2 separate regions of the Homo sapiens genome follow, and region 2 is linked to region 1. The links are contacts of gene promoters, found by promoter capture Hi-C in blood cells and fetal thymus (Javierre and others, 2016). All regions are on one chromosome and are shown on one strand. The core of a region is centred on a gene start or on the middle of the fragment in contact, and the rest is flanking DNA. Distances in the headings are between cores, read along the strand shown.

Region 1 (3,163 bases), core at 395-2,894:
GACACAGCACATGTTTCAGAGAGCACAGGGTTGGGGATAAGGTCACAGATCAACAGGATCCCAAGGCAGAAGAATTTTTCTTAGTACAGAACAAAATGAAAAGTCTCCCATGTCTACTTCTATCCACACAGACCCGGCAACCATCCGATTTCTCAATTTTTTCCCCACCCTTCCCGCCTTTCTATTCCACAAAACTGCCATTGTCATCATGGCCCATCCCCAATGAGCCGCTAGGCACACCTCCCAGACGGGGTCGTGGCCGGGCAGAGGGGCTCCTCACTTCCCAGTAGGGGCGGCCGGGCAGAAGCGCCCCCCACCTCCCGGATGGGGCGGCTGGCCGGGCAGAGGGGTCCTCACTTCCCAGTAGGGGCGGCCGGGCAGAGGCGCCCCTCACCTCCCGGATGGGGCGGCCGGCCGGGCGGGGGGCTGACCCCCCCACCTCCCTCCCGGACAGGGCGGCTGGCCGGAAGTCTTAATGCAGACAGCATTATCAGTGTGTTCAAAAGACACGTAGACACGTTTTGCCTATAGACAAATGGGCAAAAGGAAACCCAGCTTTCTCAAATGAAGCACAAGTGGGCCTTAATTATGTGAAAAGGTGTTCAAGTTCATCATTAAACAGGGAAAGGAAAAGTTAAAATCATGCTGAGATATCTTTCATAGAAATGGCAAAAAGCAGGAAGTGCCACGTGTGGGCAGAGAGGAAGCACAGGAACTCTCACAAATGGCAGGTGTCATCGTAGACCAACACAACCACTTTGGAGAGCAGTTTGACTTTCCCCAGTTAAACTGAACATGTGAGCGGCCGGGCGTGGTGGCTCATGCCTGTAATCCCAGCAGTTTGGGAGGCCGAGGCGGGCGGATTGCCTGAGCTCAGGAGTTCAAGACCAGCCAGGGCAACACGGTAAAACCCCGTCTCTACTAAAATACAAAAAATTAGCTGGGCGTGATGGTGTGTGCCTGTAATCCCAGCTACTTGTGAGGCCGAGGCAGGAGAATTGCTTGAACCAGGGAGCAGGAGGTTGCAGTGAGCCGAGATCGCACCACTGCACCCCAGCCTGGGCGACAGAGTCCCCCTCCCCCACCAAAAAAACAACAAGTGAGCATCCTGCAACCTAGCAATGCCATTGTTGAACAAGTTCAAAGATGTTCTTAGCCTTATTAGTCCCAAAAGGAAGAAAAAAATGGAGGATTTGAGAATGTTCTTAGCTTTATTGCTAAGCGGAGAAAGAAAAACAACACATACCAAAAAAAAAAAAAAAAAAAAAAAAAAAAAAAAAAAAAACCTGGGTGGGAAATTAGGGCCATGTGGCATGAAAAGGAAGACCCAGGGGAAGTGTGGCCCATCTAGGGGTGTGGCTACTGCAGTGATCCAGCTGTATCACTGAACTTCCCTGGCATCATAGAGTTATATTGTGCCATTTATGGAAAAACTCTCCCCACTGCTCTTGGCTTTGACAGTAGGAATCAGGTTATATATGGTCTCTCGGTTTGAAGATATTTGTCATTAAAAACCAGAACAAGGGCTCTGAGATAGGGTCCTTTCCTGACCTACTCTGGTAAAGTCTTTATCCTCAGGATGCAAGGATACCACCCTCTTCCTGTGGAAAGTGTCGAATCACATGCAGAGCTCTAAGTCTTTCAGTTACTTTGGAGTGCAGAACCATTTCAGGTAAGGCCAAATATTTTAAACATTAGTATAGGAAATTAGAGGGCTCTTTAGTCTGTGTGTGCATGAGAAGTAAAATTGCACGAGAAGCAATTTATGTAAAATTTCGCTTAGGAAACATTGTTTTGGCAGGTTAGTAGTATGGTGTGCATTTCCCAGAAAATTCAGTGCCGTGAGTATTACCTTTAGTTAAGCATCTTAGAAATAGTAGCTCTTTATGGCTAAGTCAGAAATACTACCCTCAAATTCTATGTGACCCTAGTTATACTGTTGAGCCTTTCTGTGCCTCTGTGCCTTCATCCTTGAATCGGGGATAATATACTTACCTCCTAAGGTTATTGTAAGGATTAAATGCATGTAGTATAAATAAAGAGCTGAGAACAATGCATGGCGTAAAGTGATAGGTATTATTATATGCTTTTGTTGGCTGTTGATTGAAGGTGTTCGCTGTTTTGGGGGTGTCCTTTAATAGAGTAACTTGGTACTGTGGAAATAGCATGATTGTGAGCAAAAGAATCAGATGGTGGTGGCTGCAGACTTTGCTGTTCCCTTCTTGACTGTTGGTTATAGCCAATGCAGGGTAAGTTATAAAGTCAAGAGCAGAGCCGTTTTCACAATGGACATTGCTTTGTGATGTCTGTGAGCTTGAATGTGAGAATGATTATTTTAATTCTCTATGTAAGGACTTTAAAGTATTGGCTATTCGGTAGCTTGAAAACTCTGTAATCTCAATGCTTTAAACTGAGAGTGGAAAATCAATAAAGCAAAAGCATGAGGCCACGCAGTGTAGAATGAGTGTCTTTTCACCACGTAGGGAAATCTGTAGTCCTAAGAAAAGAGGGAGTGAGAATTCTGGCGAAAGGATTGTGCCTCTGCACAAAGTGCAGGATCCCAGGGTTCAGTACAGGCGCGAACGCTCCTGTGTGTTGACCACACTCCCACGGTTGCTTTTTCAGACATGCTGAGGGGGACTCTACTGTGCGCGGTGCTCGGGCTTCTGCGCGCCCAGCCCTTCCCCTGTCCGCCAGCTTGCAAGTGTGTCTTCCGGGACGCCGCGCAGTGCTCGGGGGGCGACGTGGCGCGCATCTCCGCGCTAGGCCTGCCCACCAACCTCACGCACATCCTGCTCTTCGGAATGGGCCGCGGCGTCCTGCAGAGCCAGAGCTTCAGCGGCATGACCGTCCTGCAGCGCCTCATGATCTCCGACAGCCACATTTCCGCCGTTGCCCCCGGCACCTTCAGTGACCTGATAAAACTGAAAACCCTGAGGCTGTCGCGCAACAAAATCACGCATCTTCCAGGTGCGCTGCTGGATAAGATGGTGCTCCTGGAGCAGTTGTTTTTGGACCACAATGCGCTAAGGGGCATTGACCAAAACATGTTTCAGAAACTGGTTAACCTGCAGGAGCTCGCTCTGAACCAGAATCAGCTCGATTTCCTTCCTGCCAGTCTCTTCACGAATCTGGAGAACCTGAAGTTGTTGGATTTATCGGG
Region 2 (3,163 bases), core at 188-2,687, 1.2 Mb before region 1:
AGATGTAGAACTGACTTTTGTTGCAGTGTCATGTGGTGGTGAGACTCATCAGGTCACAGAGGTGGGGGGTTATTGAAAGGCCCTATGGCGGTGCACAGAAGAAGCAGATTCGGGGTGCTGCAGACAGGAGAGGGGGAGATGGAGCTCGAGTCCCAGCTCTCTGCCCCTTCCAGGCCCCAGCTTCCCCATCTGTACACCTTGGAAGTAGAGCTAGAAAGATGACCTCTAAGGTCCTATCCAGTGTGGGGACCTTGTGGAATGTGCATAGTGTGTGGCCAGTCTTTGAGGTTTGATCCTCTGGGCCAGGCTTTCAGCTTGGGCCTACTAAGTAGAATTCAAGATCTCTTTAAAATGGATGCAAATTTGTGTGGGTTTAGGCTGCATTTCTATAAATTCATCATCCCCCAAAAGGTTAAAAGACAGGTTTTGTTTATACAGTGGTGGAGCCGATGAGAAACGGAACCTCAGAGACCAGGGAAAGTGGCCCTGTGGCAGACTTGCTCAAAGGGGCCTCAGCAACCATCTCCCCCTGCAGCAACCCCAGCTGGCAAGCTGCCACTCCTTACATAACTGTTCTTTGGAAAACCAGGCAACAAAACCTCCAGGGGAAAAAAAGCTATTGATTATTAAAGGGTATTTAGAGGTTTAGAGACTCACAATAAAGCAGTTATAATTATTCCTGTAATGACACATCCTTCGAAATGCTCAGATCTGAGAACATTTTGCTTGCATTGCATCAGTCATCATCATTACAGGGAGAAATGCAGAGAGCTGGAAATAGCTCGTGTGCAAGCTACAGGCAAGGAGTCACAAGGAAAGGAGCAAATTGACAGCGAGTCAGTGAAGGAAACAGGGGAGCTTCCAATGCCCAGAACCTGCACACAGTCCTGCAGCCTCTGTCTCCCTGCCTTGCTGCCCCGCTTCAAAGCCAGCTTCTGCTGCCAAAGGACTCTTGGGGTTGAAATGCTTGTTGCACAGTTACACATCAGCTGACAGTCCTTCTCTGATTTAATGAACTTCATCTATGAAAAATACCCTCAACAGGCCGGGTGCGGTGGCTCAGGCCTGTAATCCCAGCACTTTGGGAGGCCAAGGCGGGTGGATCCCCTGAGGTCAGGAGTTTGAGACCAGCATGGCCAACATGGTGAAACCCTGTCTCTACTAAAAATACCAAAATTAGCCGGGAGTTGTGGTGGACACCTGTAATCCCAGCTACTCAGGAGTCTGAGGCAGGAGAATCACTTGAACCCGGGAGACAGAGGTTGCAGTGAGCCGAGATTGTGCCACTGCACTCCAGCCTGGGTGACAGAGTGAGACTCCATCTCAAAACAAAACAAAACAAAACAAAAACCCTCAACAGAATGTCAAAAAAAAAAAAAGAAGAAAGAAAGAAGAAAAGAAAAGAAAGAAGAAACCTGGGAAATACCATCATCTTTCTGCTTTTGATAATAACAATAACTAGCATTTATTGAGCATTTACTCTGTATCAGACACTCCTCTAAGTACTCTCTGTATATTATCTCATTTAATTCTCACAAAAATTCATGAGCTAGGAATGATAATTATTCCCATTTACTAGACAAAGAAGCTAAGGCATAAATTGGACACAGTTATACTTAGTATGGGGCAGAGTCACAATTTGAACCTGGCTGGGGTGACCCTGGAGCCCCCAGCAGGCCGCTCCCTGTTAAGGTTTCCAAGCGCACTCTTGGGCTGGTAGAACAGCCAGCAAGACGAGGGCAGGGGGAGGGATGGTGTCAGAGAGGCATCTCCCTGAAGAATCTCAGAGGACACTAAGTGTTGGGCAACATTTGGTTTGGTTTCGTGTCTTTCGTGGTTCACTTGGAGGCTTTAATCCCCCACTTTACATAGCCCTCTCCACGCTGTTTCTGTTCATTTGACAAGTATCTACTGAGCCGACACTTTGAGGTCCGTGGGTGATTCTGAGGAGAACTAGACACAGTGCCCATCCTGGGAGATGCATAATTAGGTGGGACAGGGGTGAAAATCAATCCAACAAACCAGAATACCAGGCAGAGAGCGCCCTCGTGGAGGTGCAGAGGCTCTGAGGAAGGCCTCACAGCAACAAGGACAGGCAGGTGTTCCCCTGCAGGATGAGGGTTCACATGGGCTGGGGAGAGAAGAGGAGGGACCGCCCACAGAGGGGACCATGGGCACAGCACTCTTACTTCATGATTGTGTGGCCTTAGAAGGCTCAGAATGACAACCCCAGCTGCTTTGCGTTCCCGCAGCTCCAGGTCCCTTCTCCAGCCACCCAGCCCCAAGATGGTGATGCTGCTGCTGCTGCTTTCCGCACTGGCTGGCCTCTTCGGTGCGGCAGAGGGACAAGCATTTCATCTTGGGAAGTGCCCCAATCCTCCGGTGCAGGAGAATTTTGACGTGAATAAGGTAAAAGGCGAACCTCCCGTTTGTTTTGCTGCCTCCGCTGTGAATAAGCGTTCTACAAGGTTCAATGTAATTATGCTGCTTTAATTTCCACTGCACACCTTGGGACAAGTATTTATCTTATTTGGGGTTTCCCCAAAGCAGACATCTGCTGAGATAAAGACTGCAGGCAGAGAGGTTTGGGATGATCCCGGGACGCACGAGAGCAGGTGGGAAGGTGAGTCGGAGACAGCACAGAAGCAATAAAGGGTGCGTTCCTGAGCTGTCGCCCTGGGCCGTCAGGGTCAGTCACACTGGGCACCCTCTGAGGACACGTGGAGCATGCCCCTCCGATTGTCCCACAGCTGCTGCCAGCAGGTCATGGGAGCATCCGTGGCTCTAGCTGAGCCCCCTGGCAGAGGAGAGACACAGGGTCTCAGGTGGGAGGCTGGCAGTGTCTGGGAATTGCCTACCGTGGCTGCGGTGAACTCAGAGGTGGGCTGAGGGGAACAGGACCAGGGAACCATAGTAGCTGCTACAGAGCTATTATCCTTGTTCTACAGATGCAGCATCGGAATCTCCCTCCCCAGCTCACGCAGCTGGTAAATGCAAGTAGGATTCAAAACCAGGCTTCTCAGCAGTGCAGGGCACCCAAAGGTCACTCAAACAGGGCTCAGGAAAGCCCAAAATTCTCCAGGGGGCTTTCTTGGTATCTGCACCAAAATGTCATCAATACAACGAGCTCCTCCATAGATGGTCTTTCTTCCTGGGGTTTAGC

Evidence for each region. Contacts are between HindIII fragments. The CHiCAGO score rates a contact against its expected background, and 5 or more counts as called.
Region 2: a fragment that was not itself captured here is called in contact with the fragment with the promoter of GP5 in region 1 in 1 of 17 cell types (neutrophils); the score reaches 5.4 in neutrophils.

The regions. Positions count from the first base shown.
Region 1 is chr3:194,397,747-194,400,909 of GRCh38, reverse strand. It overlaps GP5 (glycoprotein V platelet), which reads left to right and starts at 1,644. Exons shown (of 2, transcript NM_004488.2): 1 at 1,644-1,672; 2 at 2,626-3,163. The coding sequence starts at 2,628. RefSeq lists enhancers at 1-260, 261-814. The HindIII fragment of the contact is 7,722 bases long and covers 1-3,163 here.
Region 2 is chr3:195,578,585-195,581,747 of GRCh38, reverse strand. APOD (apolipoprotein D) reads left to right here. Exons shown (of 5, transcript NM_001647.4): 2 at 2,253-2,409. The coding sequence starts at 2,287. Among named protein-coding and RNA genes, the nearest start is that of APOD, 3.8 kb to the left of the region's middle. The HindIII fragment of the contact is 5,498 bases long and covers 1-3,163 here.